Regions from separate parts of the Homo sapiens genome. Here region 1 is linked to region 2. The links are contacts of gene promoters, found by promoter capture Hi-C in blood cells and fetal thymus (Javierre and others, 2016). All regions are on one chromosome and are shown on one strand. Each heading gives the region's core, a stretch centred on a gene start or on the middle of the fragment in contact. The rest is flanking DNA. Distances are from core to core; before and after follow the strand shown.

Region 1 (7,068 bases), core at 1,540-4,039, 360 kb after region 2:
TGCGGTTCCCAGGTGTGGCTGCTGCAGAGTGCAGGGCAGCTCCAGTCTGCTCCTTACCCCTGCCCCTCCATGCCAACCCCAAACACAGAGCCACTCTTTGCCTTTTCCTCCTTGTGCCTTGCAGGTGACTCTCCTGGCAATGAAACCTGGGCCACCAGCCCAGAGAGGCCTCTCACCACAGCAGGGACCAAGGCTGCCTTTGTGCAAGGCACCAGCCCCACCCCCCAAGGCCTGCCCCAGCGGCTGAACCTGACCGGAGCAGTCAGGGTGCTCTGTGAGATCGAGAAGGTGGTTGTCGCCATCCAGAAGCGCTTCCTGCAGCAGGAATCCATCCCCGAGTCCTCGTTGTACCTCAGCCACCCCTCCTGCAACGTGAGCCACAGCAATGGCACACACGTGCTCCTGGAGGCCGGCTGGAGCGAGTGTGGGACCCTCATGCAGAGCGTAAGACCAGGAGAGCCAGGCTCAGGATGTACACTAGGGCGCAAGGGGCTCTAGGTTACATGGGCCTCGATGTGGGAGGGCCAGGCAAGACTCTGCACCCCGAGGGGAACCCAGCAAGGGGGGTTCAGGACAGGGTTGAGTTCTCAACCAGGGACCAGCCTGCACCCCAGAATCGGAAGGGAGCTGTGAGTCCACCCAGGAGGGACTCTGGTGCAGAGTGCTGGGGCAGGCTTCAGAGTCACGGCTTAAAACTCCTCCCTGCACAGACAGGATGAGAGGCAGTGGGACAGGAAGAGGCAGGAAAGCCAAGGAGTCCTGTGTGATATGAGAGTGTGTGTGTGTGAGTGTACGTGTGTGCATGTGTGCATGTGTCTGAATATGTCTGTGTATGTGGGGGTGTGCATGTGTGTGAATGTGTGTAAATGTGTGAATCTGTGTGTGCGAATGTGTATGTGTATATGCATGGCTGTGCTTATATGTACGTGCGTGTGTGTGTGCATGTGTATCGCGTGCTTGTGTGCGTGTGGGTGTGCATGCATGTATGAATGTGTGAGTGTGTGAATGTGAGAATGTGTCTATGTGCATGTGTGCATGTGTGCGTGAGTTGAGCATGTGTGGATGCGTTTGTCCATGTGTGAGTGTGTATGTATGGGTGTGTGTTTGGGGGGCATTGGATGGCATTAGTCAGAACTGCTCTGTCGGAGGGACTGTGTTCCTAGCGAACATTCTCTATTTCAGGGTCCTGGATGGGCTGTGGGGCTCCCGGGACAGAGGGAGCCCAGGTGGGGAAAGTGGGTTTTCCTGGCCTGAGGCCTTCGCACCTCTGTGTGCACAGATGGGCTCTGGCACCTCCCCTTGCAGGTGACTCTGGGCCAGTGCGTCCTGGGTCTACTCTGAGCCTCTAGTGTGTGGCACCCATGAGGTAGCTGACCTGGCTCCAGGTCCTGCTTCTTCCCAGGGTGCCTCTGTGTCACAGCGAACGCTCCCATGCAGGCCCTTGTTCGTCTCCAACCCCACTTGGCCACATGGAGCACAAAGGCTTCGTGTTCAGGGCCCTGCTTGGGGGACAAGAGGAGGGGAGAGCCAGCACCTTCCACCAGCTCAGCCTGGTACTGGACACAGGGGCCTGGGCCGCATGGGCCTGGGAGTGCAGGGTGGATCAGGGAAGCTGCCTGGAGGGGCCGGCGGCTTCAGAGGGAGCCCGTGCCGGCTCTGGGTTGGGGAAGTGGCCTTCTGGGAAGGGGCTCGACCTAGAAAGGAGGCCAGCGTCGTTCCAAGGGTGAGTGAGAGAGCTGTGAATGTATCCAAGGGCCATGCCGGGGGTGGCTAGATGAGGGAGGCTGGAAACCATGGCGGAGTTAAGAGTCTGTCCGAGTGGTTCTGGTCAGGTGGGCAGGGATGGAAGGGTGGACACTCATGGGCAGGGTGGGGTATGAGGCCTGGTGGGAAAGTGGGGCTGTGGATGGGGCTGAGCAGGGAGCAGTGCCTGGCCTAGGAGCCAGGGCCAGAAGGCTCTCCTAATGGGGACATTGTCCTCATCGGGAGCTAGGCAGGAATGGTGGTTCCTGGTCGTTGGCGGGAACTCTGGGCCCTGGGCTTCTGTCCCTCAGGACCTTTGAGCAGTCCAAGGCATTGCATTCTAAAAAAAGGGATTGGTTGGGGTGGTGCCCTGAAACCACCGTGGACCTGCTTGGCTGAGAGTTCTACATGCATGATGATGTTTAGTCCCTTAGCGACCGCATGGGTCAGGCATCATCATCCACGCTCTGCGGCTGAGCCCTGGGTGCTCGGCAGGGTCCATGGGAGTTCAGGGTCAAAGTCAACCTGACACCGAGAAGCAGCCCCGTCCCTGTGGCTCTGCCTCTTGAGGAGCCTTGAGGGGGTGCTGCTTCTGGTTGGGGGTCTGGACACACTCCTTAGTGGGGACAGGGCGGCCTCTGGCACTGGATGGGTCAAAGCTGTCAGATGAAACCCAGAGTCCTGGCATGGGGTGTCAATGTCTGGGAGCCGACAAAGTGGGAACCGGGTGGACGTCCTGAGCAGGAGGCTGGGACATGGACCTTGGGGCTGAGTAAGGAGCTAGCCCTGGGGAGCAGAGGCCAGAAAGCCCCAGGGGCTGAGGGATGAGGTGGGGAGGTGGGGCATAAGGTGATTCCATGGTGTGGAGCCTGCTTGGAGCCTGGAGCTGGGACTGAGGGTGGCCAGGAAGCTGAGGGATTCACGTGGACGCGTCGGAGGCCATTGCAGAGCACAAGCTTGCCTGGGAGGCACAGCTCACTCTGCCGAGCTCATTCCGCCCCCTCGGGGGCTCTTCAGATCCTCCCTGGGCTGAAGGAGTAACCTGCACTGTTTCAACAGCTACAAAACCTTCCTCACCCTTCAGCCCCTCAAATGGCACAACTTAAGCAGAACTGCCCAGAATTAGTTTTCTCCCTCAAAGCTTCTTAGACGGCCACCTGGAGGCCGAGCGTTGGCAGCAGGGGGGTGTCTGCAAGGGGGATGGGCGGTGATCAGTGGCTCCTGTGGCTTCTCGGCAGTTTCCCTGGTGAGGGAGGTCTGGGGTGAGAGGTGCATGTGGGCCGGGCCACAGCGGCATCCTCAAGCCTATGCAGGGCTCTTGCAGGGCTGCGGGGCCAAGTGGAGGGGCTGAGGGTGCAGGACAGCCTGCCTGGTGCTCAGATCGCCACCCACACAGCGGCAGCTCCAGTGGAGAGACAGCGCCTCCCAGGACTGGGGCCCTGGGCAGAGCCTGCAGCCGGCAGCTCCCTCTGTGTTTTTCTGAACCAGACCAATGCTTGGCTTGATTATTAAATGCAGCAGGGTTTGGGGCATGTTGAAAGAAAAGGGAATTTGTCTCTGATGACTCACCCAGTCCCTGAAATCCACAAGAGCTCTTGACGGTTTTTGACACTTGTCAAAAACTAAGTTTCCCAGAAAGACTTATTTGTGCAGCTGCCACGGAATCCCCACAGGTTCAGGTGCTGCCTCCTCTGGTCAATAGGGAATGAGCAGAGGCCGAGCCCTTAGGCTCTTAGGCAGTTTATGGTTGGGAGAATCGCCAGGATCTCGATGCTGCTGGGGAGAGGCTTTAGAGAAGAACCCCCATCCCCCCAGCACCTAGAGCCGTGGCCCACAGCAGGGCGTGGGGGGCCGGCTGGGGCCTGGGAGCTCCTCATGCTCCGCTTTGTGCTCAGAACATGACGAACACCGTGGTGAGGACCACGCTGAGGAACGACCTGTCCCAGGAGGGCATCATCCACCACCTGAAGATCCTGAGCCCCATCTACTGCGCCTTCCAGAATGACCTGCTGACATCCTCCGGCTTCACCCTGGAGTGGGGGTAAGGGAGAAATGCCCCGGCTGCCCCACAGCCACGTGCCTCCAGACCACCTGCGCTTTGAGAGTTCTTTAGGGTGTCAACCACTTAAGGACCCTTCCTTGAGATGGAATATACAAATGGGTGTGGCCTGGCTGCTCCCCAAATTTTGTTCCCTCTTCCCACTCAGGGCTAGCCAGAGAAGGCCAAATATGTCCCGTGGCCAATCCCATGGGATGGCCCCACTTCCAGTGAGCCACTGGCAGGCCGCCACCCAAGCCTCCATCAGGCACCACTTTTTCTATAATGGACCCCCCACCTTCCACTGAGTCTCCACCTATACAACTGAGGGAGGCAACCCCTGGACCAGCCAGCCCTGAATAAATGGCCTCCAAGTGCTCTCGTTTGGGGTTGAGGGGGTCTTCTCGTTCATTTGCACGTTCCTCTGGAGCTGTGTTTTAGGGGAGAAGTGGGAATGGGAGGGGCCACGATAATGCGCCTCCTGAAACATGCCTCCTGCAAGCTGCTTCCTCTTGCAGGGTTTACACCATCATCGAGGACCTCCACGGCGCTGGGAATTTTGTTACCGAAATGCAGTTGTTTATCGGAGACTCTCCCATACCTCAGAATTATAGCGTGTCTGCCAGTGACGATGTCAGGATCGAAGTGGGGCTCTACAGGCAGAAAAGCAACCTCAAGGTGGTCCTGACGGAGTGCTGGGCAACCCCGTCTAGCAACGCCCGGGACCCCATCACCTTCAGCTTCATTAACAACAGGTAGGGCTCAGGAGTGCAGGCACCCCCATCCAGCAATGCCTGGGGCTTTATTAACAATAGGTAGGGCTCAAGAATGCAGACATCCCCATCCAGCAATGCCCAGGGCTTCATTAACAATAGGTAGGGCTCAGGAGTGCAGGCACCCCTGTCCAGCAATGCCCAGGGCTTCATTAAGAACAGGTAGGGCTCAAGCAGGCACTGCCATTGCCTGGCCTTGCTGTGTGGCCAGCTCTGGGCTCTGCAGGATTTCCAGGCGAGTGCTGTCATGGACCTGGGTTTTGGGGAACAAATGAGGTGCCCGGTCCTCGACTTCCACGGAGCCTGTGGAATCTGCGAGTGTCGTCAGATGTAGTCGTGAGTAAACTCATCTGAGAACAAGGACAGCGGGGCTCGCTGACAAGCAAGGAGTCCCATTTCCTCTCTTCTCAGCTGCCCTGTGCCCAACACATACACCAACGTGATTGAGAACGGCAACTCCAATAAGGCCCAGTTCAAGCTGAGGATCTTTTCCTTTATCAACGACTCCATCGTCTACCTGCACTGCAAACTCCGCGTCTGCATGGAATCCCCCGGAGCCACGTGCAAAATCGTAAGTGTTTTTTGGTTTTCTAAACGTTTGGTTGGATTCACGTTCCTTATTGTTACGGTTCGAGGCTCTGTTAATAAAAACCTAGGGCTCGAGTGGCTCGGGGCCAACCTCTGGGAGGAGTCGCTGTGCCTGTCCTGCAGACTCCGCGTCTGAAATGGTATTTCCACGGCAGGCAGCCCTTGGACGGAGGACTCATGTGGACTGGTGGGCATTTCCCATTTCTCAATGGCTGAGCTGAGTTCCTTCTTGAGGCCATAATATTCAACCGGCTGTCGCGTCAGCACTGCCTTGCCATGATACCTAGTGCTTCTAAGGTGATTTATAGGTGTAAAAATATTTTTTAAATATTATTTTTAACAACATTGATGGAACATACTAAATATCAGACACTCTGTTATTTAATAAAGTTTTTTCCCCTTTCCTTTGTTCAACAATCATGCAGGGATAATTTTACATTCCTGTTTTCCTTAGATTTTTGAATTTGAAATATGCTTTGTAATCCTGAGGTTTGAAAACTGTGCTTTATATCACAGACAAGTACATGAGGTTCCCACATGTTGGTCGCCTGTTGTCTGAGGCAGGGGACAGCTTAGGGAGCTCCGCTGCTTTTTGCTCAGTGACCGAATGCTTCTCTCTCCTCGGAGGTAGTGCTTGTTCCTGCTCTCATCTGAGCTGTTTTCCTGGGTGACCAAGCTCTGAGCGTCTGCAGGACGTGGATAGAGAAGCAACACAAGGAAGGCTGATTCTGTTCATGTCTGTTTTGCTCAAACACTAGATCTTCCTGAGCAATGGGACAGAAGGAACCTCAGGTCCTAATGACAGCAGGCTGAGGGCCACACACGAGGAGCCTGCCCCTGGTTCCACTGGAGCCTCAGAGATGACAGGAGCACGGACAGCCACCGCCAGGCTTCGTCTCTGCAGGGAGCGGCTGGCTCTCAAGTTCTCTACAAGAGAATTCTTTACAAGAGGAGCGGCACACAGTGTGTTTTTCAAGCTCCTTTAGGATGGATAGATAGTGTATGAGCTTTCCGGGCTGCTGTAGGAACGTACCACAAACTGAGCGGCTTAAACAGTGGAAACTTATTGTCTCTGTTCTGGAGGCAGGAAGTCCAAGATGGAGGTGTCAGCCGGCTGGTTCCCTCTGAGAGTTCTAAAGGAAGGATCTGTCCCAGGCCTCTCTCCCAGCTTCTGGTGGCCTCGGGCGTTCCTTGGCTGGTAGACGGCATTTGCCCTGTCTCTCGGTGTTGCCTTCCCTCAGTACACATCTATGTTTGTGTCCAAATTTCCCCTTTACAGAGGGACACCAGCCATAGTGGATTAGGGCCCACCCTGATGACCTCAGCTTGATGATCTGTTTCCAAGTAAGGTCACATGCACAGGTGCTGGGATTTAGGACTTCAATCCCTTTTTGGAGGACATGTTGCAGCCCATCTCAGGCATCTAGTGAGCAGATCCCACCATGTCACTGAGCCAGGCAGTCTTTTTTGTAAGGCAAAGGTGTAAAGGGGAACAAATGGCTGCAGCAACCTTTGGAGAACACAGAGGGACTCTGAGGGCTGTGACCAAGACACAGTCCTCAAGGGACCCAAGGAAGCAGCTCTAGCAACCAAAAGCAGCTCAAGGGGTCTTCTCCAGCCTGCTGCTCTTGCAGACCTCACTTCCTTCCCCGCTGACGCCTGGGCCTGCCTCTTGTTGCACCAGGACCCACCACCCTGGTCTCACCAGGTCTCCCACTCCTCTGTCTAAACTCAGCCCCCTTGCCTTGCAACTTCTAGCAGGATAAAATCGCATACATCACATTAGCATCCTTGATAGTAGCTCCTTTCTCATAAATGTTGTTCAATTAATTTGACGTTTCTCTTCTTGGAAAAAAAAAAACAGAATTGCAATAACTTTCGGTTGCTGCAAAATAGTGAAACCTCTGCCACACACCAGATGTCCTG
Region 2 (7,421 bases), core at 3,534-6,033:
GAGGAAGGGGGTCCCGGGACCGCCCTGTGGGAGATCTGAGGCCCAGGAGTGGGGGTGGGGCGGCTCCCTTGCCTACCAGCCTGGATTTCGCTCAGAAGCACCAGCATGTCCTCAGAAACTTTCCACACTGTTTACCATCCAGTAACCACTGGGCCAAAACCCACACGACCCCGCCTTCCAGCCCCTCTCCAGGTGCTCCCTAGGCGCACATCTGGGAAACTCCAGCGGCTTTAGGAAGCTCCAGCCCTTCTGGGGTCGGGTGTCGCCCGGCGGCATTTGCAATTCAATAAGCCTGAAAGGGCCTCTTTGCAACAAGCTGCAAGAAGAGGCTTTTCTGATCAGGGAGGTTAAGAAGTGCTCAGGTACTCGAAGCACAGAAAGAACCCACCAATTGCTTTTGAGCAATGGCACTATTTTTTTTAATACATTTTTTTCTCCTAAGCAGTGTTTCTGGCTTATTTTAATGATTCTGGCTTATTCTGATGACCACACAAAAGGAACTGTAGATTTATTACTATTATCATTTTAACACGTGGAGAGATGCCGAATCCAGCCTAGGTGCTGGGGTGGCGGCCAGGGAGCACAGAACATCACACAGTCACATTCGCACCGTCTCCAAATCGCATTTCTTACTGTTGACAGTGAAGTCAACGTTTCTGGGTTGACCAGAAGCCCCTCTCGTCGGTGTTAATTAAAACACAACCTAAAAACTGTGCCTTGCTCCAAGCGCAGCTACGCTTAGGCACAGTTCAGAGGGGGTGGCATCCTATTCCCCTCTCCTTCGCTGCTGGTGAAAGCGTTGCTAATTCTGCTTCCACGCAGGAACGGGAAAAGCCCCCCCTCCCCCGCAAAAGTGTCCTGGGTCCTGTTTTGGGTTCCACATGAAAAATCTCTGGGCATTAATTAGGATTAACTTGGGGTTCAACTTTTTAAAGATACGGTGAGTAGCACTTAGATGAATTCGGTTTTCTCCTCATTTAGGGCTAGCCAAAGTGTATTTCGCCCTCCCAGGGAGGCCAATGGAGTAGCGAGAAATACGAGAAATATCATCACACCAATCATCTCTAAAAGGAACTTCTAAAGAAGTCCCAAGGTTCTTCTCCAGGCTCAGAAATTCCAAAGACCTGTGGACCAGGCCAGCTGCGGTTTCCCCTGCAAGCACGCATCCTGGAAAGGGGGAAAGAACTGCCCCGGGACATGGTCTTGTGCAAGCGGAGAAGCAATAAACGAAGGGAAAAGTGAGAAGCAGGGAGGTGGGGGAGACGGTGAGACCGCTCAGGTAACAAAGAGCTCCGAAGGAGAAACCTAGCAACTACCTTCAGGAAAATGCAGCCGGAAAATGTGTTTCATCATCTGTTAGCTGATGCCTCTCAGCGAGGCCTTCTGCACACCAATCCAATTATGTTCCCAGGGAGCCTCGGAGGGGTTCCCACACGGCTATTTTTAAAACTGACAAGAAACGGGCTTGTCCAATCGTCAGCTCTGTTGTTACAAACCTGGGGTTTGCTCAGGCTCGCCCCGACCAGCCAGGGCTGAATGTGGCAGGAGCGTCTCCCAGCCGGCGCCCCGCAGGCACTGGCTTCTTCTGAGCATCCCCTTAGCTGGGGGCTGGTAGGGGAGGAACGGGGCCTTTGGGATCACTTTATTCTCTCCAAACTGGTCACAGCACCCATCCCTACACCCCACCCTAGGCCCTGTGACCCCCACAATGAGGGTCAGCCAGGGAGGCCAGCTGCCTCTCCAAAGCCACCCCACAGGACCCTCCGAGGCACCGAGCCCCATGATGAAGGTAATCTCAGATCAATGGGGTGTCACCTGTGAACTCCCAGGAGGGCCCCCTGGCAGGCACTTCCTGTCCCTGGGAGCCTCGCTAAGTGTCTGGGGGCTGGGCGGCCCCCCAACCTTTCCTGCACAGAAAAGCAAGCTCACATGGCCTGGCGCAGCCTGCTCATCAAACAAGCCCCGAGCAGGTGCTGTGGCCAAGGGCCGGCTGAAGGCCTGGCCCAGGGGAGCTGCAGGGAGCCAGGAGACCCCAGACCACCTTGAGAGGCAAGCAGCGTTGGCCAGTGAAAATCAGCCTCACCTGCACCTGTACCTGTGGTGGCTCCTATGTAACAAGTGGACTAGACCATCACTGACCCCCAGCAGCCTGGAAGAGGCCCAGACCCGTGTGTCAGGGGTGAGAGGGGCTGTCCCTCCGAGAAGAGAAGCAAGACTTAGGCAGAAGGGGTACAGGGCCGGGGGCTGCACACAAAGACCCTAGGAGAATCCTATGCCCCAATTCAGGGAACATCTTGCAAATATGAGGGGCTGGGGTGGGAGGCAGCTCGTCAGAAAAGCACTGAGAAATGTGGCAGGGCAAGTGGCACAGCGACTACTTCAAGGCCTAGGTACAACCTTGTGAGACTGCAATGCAACCAGCTCCTGGAGCACAGTGGGACTGATGTACATTCCTAACAAGAACCTCAGGCTCAATACAGTCAATAATTAACCTAAAGGAATCAGCTTCACAAAGAGCCAGGGTTTGACCAACTTCTCAGAAAGATCAGCCACTGCTGCACATGGCAAAGCCCCAACCTACTCTACCAGGCCCAGCAGAGCACAGGAGGTGAAATGCTTCCTGCTAGGCGATGCTGACCTCGACCTAGCCACCTGACATGCCACCACCTGTCTGCTTTGGGCAGGGTAGGAAAGGCTTCCAGTTAAAGTACAAAACACTTTTCAACCAAGCTATGCAATATCCTAAGTGATCCACCTTAAGTGGAGAAAGCCTCCCTCCAACCAGGCCACCCAAGAAATAAGGGACTGGTCGCTAGAAATAACAGAAGATCCTAAGGATGTGAGCTGGTGAGTCAGTCCAGGTAGGTGCTTGTTTACTTTGCTCTTCCAATATAAGAAAGTGGTGTGAAAATTTTCACTGATGATTAAAGCTCACACACATCCCCAAGAGATAAAACGAATGCCCCTATGGAGAGGGTTCCCTTTCAGAACCTAACCACTGGCTGGTATTCAAAGTGGTTTGGATTTCATCAAAATAACCACAGCACCCCTCCTGGCCTGAGAAGTTCCCAGAATCTGAGGCAGGGGAGAAAAAGTGCACAGCCTGGGCCAGCATCTCACCTTTGAACTAGTGGTGATTTGATGACACTCGTCACCACTCTACTGGTGTTTCCAAGAAACACTGGATTTGAGGGTTACGGCAAAAAGCCACCACTATCTCTGCTGTGTAGTCTCCTAGCCAAGGACGAAAATGCAAAGGGAGAGGACAGGCCTCTCATCCACAGAGGCGTCACAGTCACGGTATGGGGCTGCAGCACGCACTGCCACCCCAGACACAGGCATCACAACGATTCTGCAGAAAAGCTGGGGCTTAGCGGCCCCATCACTCAATCAGCCGAGCATTCGAAACCAGGTCTGCCAGGCAGCAAAGGCTAAATGGTATTTTAAAAAGGTGTCGCTTCTGAGTGTATGTGTTCAAGGAATCTCTAGGTAAAATACAAGCATAGCTTCCATGTAGAAGGTAAGCTTCATTAAAGGATAAATAATTAAAACGTGCTAAATTGAGCCTTACATATGAACCATCAAAATCAACTGTAAACAGTGAAATCTACAACAACAAAGAGGTACTGTTCAAGAACATTCTCCCTACCTCTCAAATTATGCACAGACGACAACCGACCCACCGAATTTAACACGGGCGGCTCTGCGTCCTTCCCATTCGTCTTTGTTACCTTGAACACTCCTGCTAGGTAGGTACAGGCAGGTTCCATTCTGACTTTTGGACTGGGAAACTGGGGTGCAGGAGGGCCCCATGGCACGGCCACAGAACTTGAATGCAAGGCCCTTCCCTAGCGGGTCGGTCTCGAAATTAAGTCAGCTAAAACGAGAGTGTGCGGCGAGGAAGCGCTGGGCGGACGGATCAACACCCCGGGCCCCGTGCCGGACCCCACTGCCAGGCCCGAGCCCCGGAGCTCCACCGCGCAAGCGCCGGGCGCCCGGGAAGCCTCGCCCGAGCCAAGCCGAAGCTTCCGACCGAAATAATTACAGTCTTACACCAATTTGTGTTCCAACGTAAATTACTAAGTAAGTCGAACGGAGGCTAACTCCACTCACAAAGCCCAGAGGCCCACATGGCAATTTTTCTAAGCCCTGCGCAGACCGCAGCGCCCCGGTGGGTCCCGGGCGGGCCGGACGCGCCTCCCAAGGGCGCGGGTCCGAGGCGCAAGGCGAGCTGGAGACCCCGAAAACCAGGGCCACTCGGGGAGTGTCAGGAAGCACGACTGGGCGCCTTAGGACGTCCGGGCAGACGCGGCCCCCGAGGAGCCCCAGAGGAGCCCCAGAGGAGCCGCCTGACCCGGCCCCGACGTGCGCGATCGAGCCCGGGCTCGCCAAAGCCCCCGCGCCCCTCCGGCCCGGACAGGCCGAGTGGACATTGTCGGAGCCCCGCGGCCTCGCCGGCAATTGGTTTCCCCCCCGAAGCTGCTCCGGGGGTGAGTTCGGGAGAGAGAGGCAGGACCCCGGGACCAGAGCACCCCGACCCCGACCCCAGCCCGGGCCCCAGCCGCCCCAGCGCCCCGCCCGGGCCGCTCACCTGTCGTCGACGTGCAGGCTGGGCGAGCACTTGATGGCCAGCCAGGTCTTCCAGTGGACATGGCGCACCTTGTACACCTGCCCGAAGCCGCCCGAGCCCACCTTCTCCCAGCCCGTGAACTCGCCCGCGTCGAAGGTGCGCAGCAGCGCCAGGGCCCATGGGGTCCCGCCGTCGCCCTCCATCGCGCACGTCTAGCCAGCGCCGCGGCGGCTGCCCAGGTGCCCAGGTGCGCGCTCCGCCCTGTTACGTCACTTCCGTAGGTCGTCCCGCCCCCAGGCCCCGCCCACTTACCCGCCCCCCGGGCGCCCTCTCTGCCAGCGCCCGGTGACTGCGGACGGATGAATAGACGCTGCGGGTCACTGCGCTCTCCCCTGGGTGAGCAGAGCTTCTCACGCTTCTCACGGGTCTCGACGTGCGCATCAGCTGCCCTGCTTTTCTTTGCTTTTTTTTTTTCCTTAATTGCGGAGTCACATGCAGTTGTAAGAAATCATTCACTTTGCCTAGTTTCCCCCAGTGTTACCACTTTGCAAAACTTTGCCAAAAAAAAAAGTCCAATCTCACAACCAGGATATTGACTTTGATACAGTCACCGATCTTATTCAGTTTTGCCGTTTTACTCGTCTTCCTTTGCATGTATTAGTTTTACACAATGTAATCATCTGTGTACCTTCCCGTATCCACCCCCACCTGGCCACTCCTGTGGCGATTTTACAGCCGCACCCCGGAGCCCTGGCATCACTAATCTTTCCTCTATTTCTAAAATTGTTTTATTTCAGAAATGTTATGTTTAGATACAGGAATCATACAGCGCCTAATTTTTTGAAATTGGCTTTCTTCACTCGTTAGTCTAATTCCCTGCAGGTTCACGTCTTGCTTTTTTACACGAGTTTCCTCTCAGAAAGTAACTTTTTTTAAAAAATTACCCAACAGCAAATCTAAAGTCCATTTCAAATGCAAGAGTTCCCTCATCCTTTCCTAAATAACAGCCTCTTTTTACAGGTAGAACAGATGGTTTGAAAAGGAAAGATTTTTTTTTCACATATGGGGAAAAAAAATTCCCAGCCTTGGAAGGATATTTGGGTTAGAGGCCGAAGTGCATCACAGATCACGCACGCGTCCACACCTCAGAAAACACTCACTCATTCCTGAGACGCAACGGTGAGTGAAGGCTTATTTTTGGCCACAGGAGATTAATAATGAAGACAGGAGGGCGGAGCTAAAGGAGAGGGTATTTTAACGACATTAACTGTGTTTTTGTGTTAGTAACTCGGAAAGAGAGAGGCTGCCCCAAGTCAGCGCATTGAAAGCCGCAGACCTAGTGTCTCCAGGCTCCCCCTTCCAAACGGGCGCGGACCTTCTTTCATAGCCTGTAGCGGGGAGCCGCGTCTCCCCACTGCCTCCCCACTCCCATCCGGCCGCTCTTTGGAGGGAACTCACACATCCCAACATGACGATGCTTGCTCGGGGGGCCTCCTGGGGGGACCAGGGAGCCACTTCCTTTCCCACATACTCCGGAAATTAAAGTTGGTCTCCTTAAGGCTGGAGTGGCAAATAGTTGTTTTAAGCTTGTCACAAATGTAACTTACATTTGGACTAATGTTTTAAAAAATAATTGGAGTTTTGAATCTACGAAGATACCTTGGAAGTAAACATAGTTATTATTTTGGTGGGAAAAAAATGAATGGACTTGAAAGTGAGTCACCTGTCCTGTTCCCGGGGCTCAGCTCTAGCAAAGTACCTTTCTCCATCTACAGTCTCCGGCACACAGCTCCGCAGCTGGGGGTGACTAAGAGCCCACACCACGCAAGTAATAAAACGCTCCAATTTCATTTATTTAATCATCTGTGTGCTTCATTTGACAAATATTTATGGAGTGTCTGCTGCTAGCTCAGTGCCTGGTGCCTGGGACTGAAGACCAGAGCCCCCTGGAGACCAAAAGAGCCAGCTCCCAGCTGTGAGCAGATCGGGTCCAAAGATCACGGGCTCGGCGGCAGGAACCTGGTTTGGTATCCGGCTCCTCTGCGGACTTTGAAGTGCTTTACCGATTCACATGACAACTGGTAAAACGAAAACAAACACCTTTCCAGGAATTGTGAATTCGAGTTCCAGACCCTCTGGGATTCCGGGAGCGCAGCTGCTATTTATGTTAACAGTCATTGGTCCCAGGCTGGTGAGGTTAGAATTTCCAAGTATAAAAGTAATTTAGTTTCGTTTTAAATACATTTTAGGGCCAAAGAAAAGTGGAACGATTTAAAGAAAAAGATGAAATGAATAATAGGGCAAGTTGGGAGGTGGCTGTCCTGAGGTTTCATGGGACAACATTAATTAACCTCATGAAGTGCCTGCATGGACAACGTGCCCGGTGTGGTTACAAACAAACCAATCAGCACAGATCCTGGGTGGAAAGCAGGGCGCAGCCACGGAGGCACAGTAGGGGTGCAGACTTGAAGGTTTTTAGGAGGTAAGCCCCGAGGGCACGAAGCTCCACGGAGAGACTGTTGACCCGCCTGGGAGTGCAGTGCAGGTGAGGAGGGGAGGGACGACGAGGGGAGACAATGGGGGGTGGGAGGTGGGAAGGAGGAGTTGGGGAAGGGGGCTGTCTGCTGACATTTGCAAGCCCCCACTCCCCCACTACCCTGTGTTCCTCCTGGCCCCTTCCCCAGAAGAATTCCAAGCCAGTTTCCTCCTATACTGGATGTCCTGACAGCGAATCTAAATAGGTGATCCCTTGAGCTCCAGGTCCCCAAGCTGTGCCCTTCTTCATAGGGGGCCATTTAGCACTGACCCACCCAGCAGGCAGCCCAAGGTCCCTGGTCTGGAAGTGCCAGGA

What was found. The method cuts DNA at HindIII sites, captures the fragments that hold promoters and counts their contacts. A CHiCAGO score of 5 or more calls a contact.
Region 1: a fragment that was not itself captured here is called in contact with the fragment with the promoter of RIPK4 in region 2 in 4 of 17 cell types (M0 macrophages, fetal thymus, non-activated CD4 T cells and 1 more); the score reaches 9.2 in M0 macrophages.

The regions. Positions count from the first base shown.
Region 1 is chr21:42,122,707-42,129,774 of GRCh38, forward strand. UMODL1 (uromodulin like 1) reads left to right here. Exons shown (of 23, transcript NM_001004416.3): 17 at 125-444; 18 at 3,639-3,784; 19 at 4,300-4,536; 20 at 4,966-5,125; 21 at 7,007-7,068. Among named protein-coding and RNA genes, the nearest start is that of UMODL1-AS1, 18 kb to the left of the region's middle. RefSeq lists enhancers at 1-719, 2,047-2,820, 2,821-3,592. The HindIII fragment of the contact is 185 bases long and covers 2,698-2,882 here.
Region 2 is chr21:41,762,269-41,769,689 of GRCh38, forward strand. RIPK4 (receptor interacting serine/threonine kinase 4) reads right to left here and starts at 4,784. Exons shown (of 8, transcript NM_020639.3): 1 at 4,592-4,784. The coding sequence starts at 4,773. LOC102724800 (a long non-coding RNA gene) reads left to right here and starts at 4,899. Exons shown (of 5, transcript XR_937745.3): 1 at 4,899-4,966; 2 at 5,591-5,749; 3 at 6,346-7,115. RefSeq lists enhancers at 1-596, 1,298-1,897, 1,341-1,635, 1,898-2,496, 6,401-6,695. The HindIII fragment of the contact is 2,131 bases long and covers 4,024-6,154 here.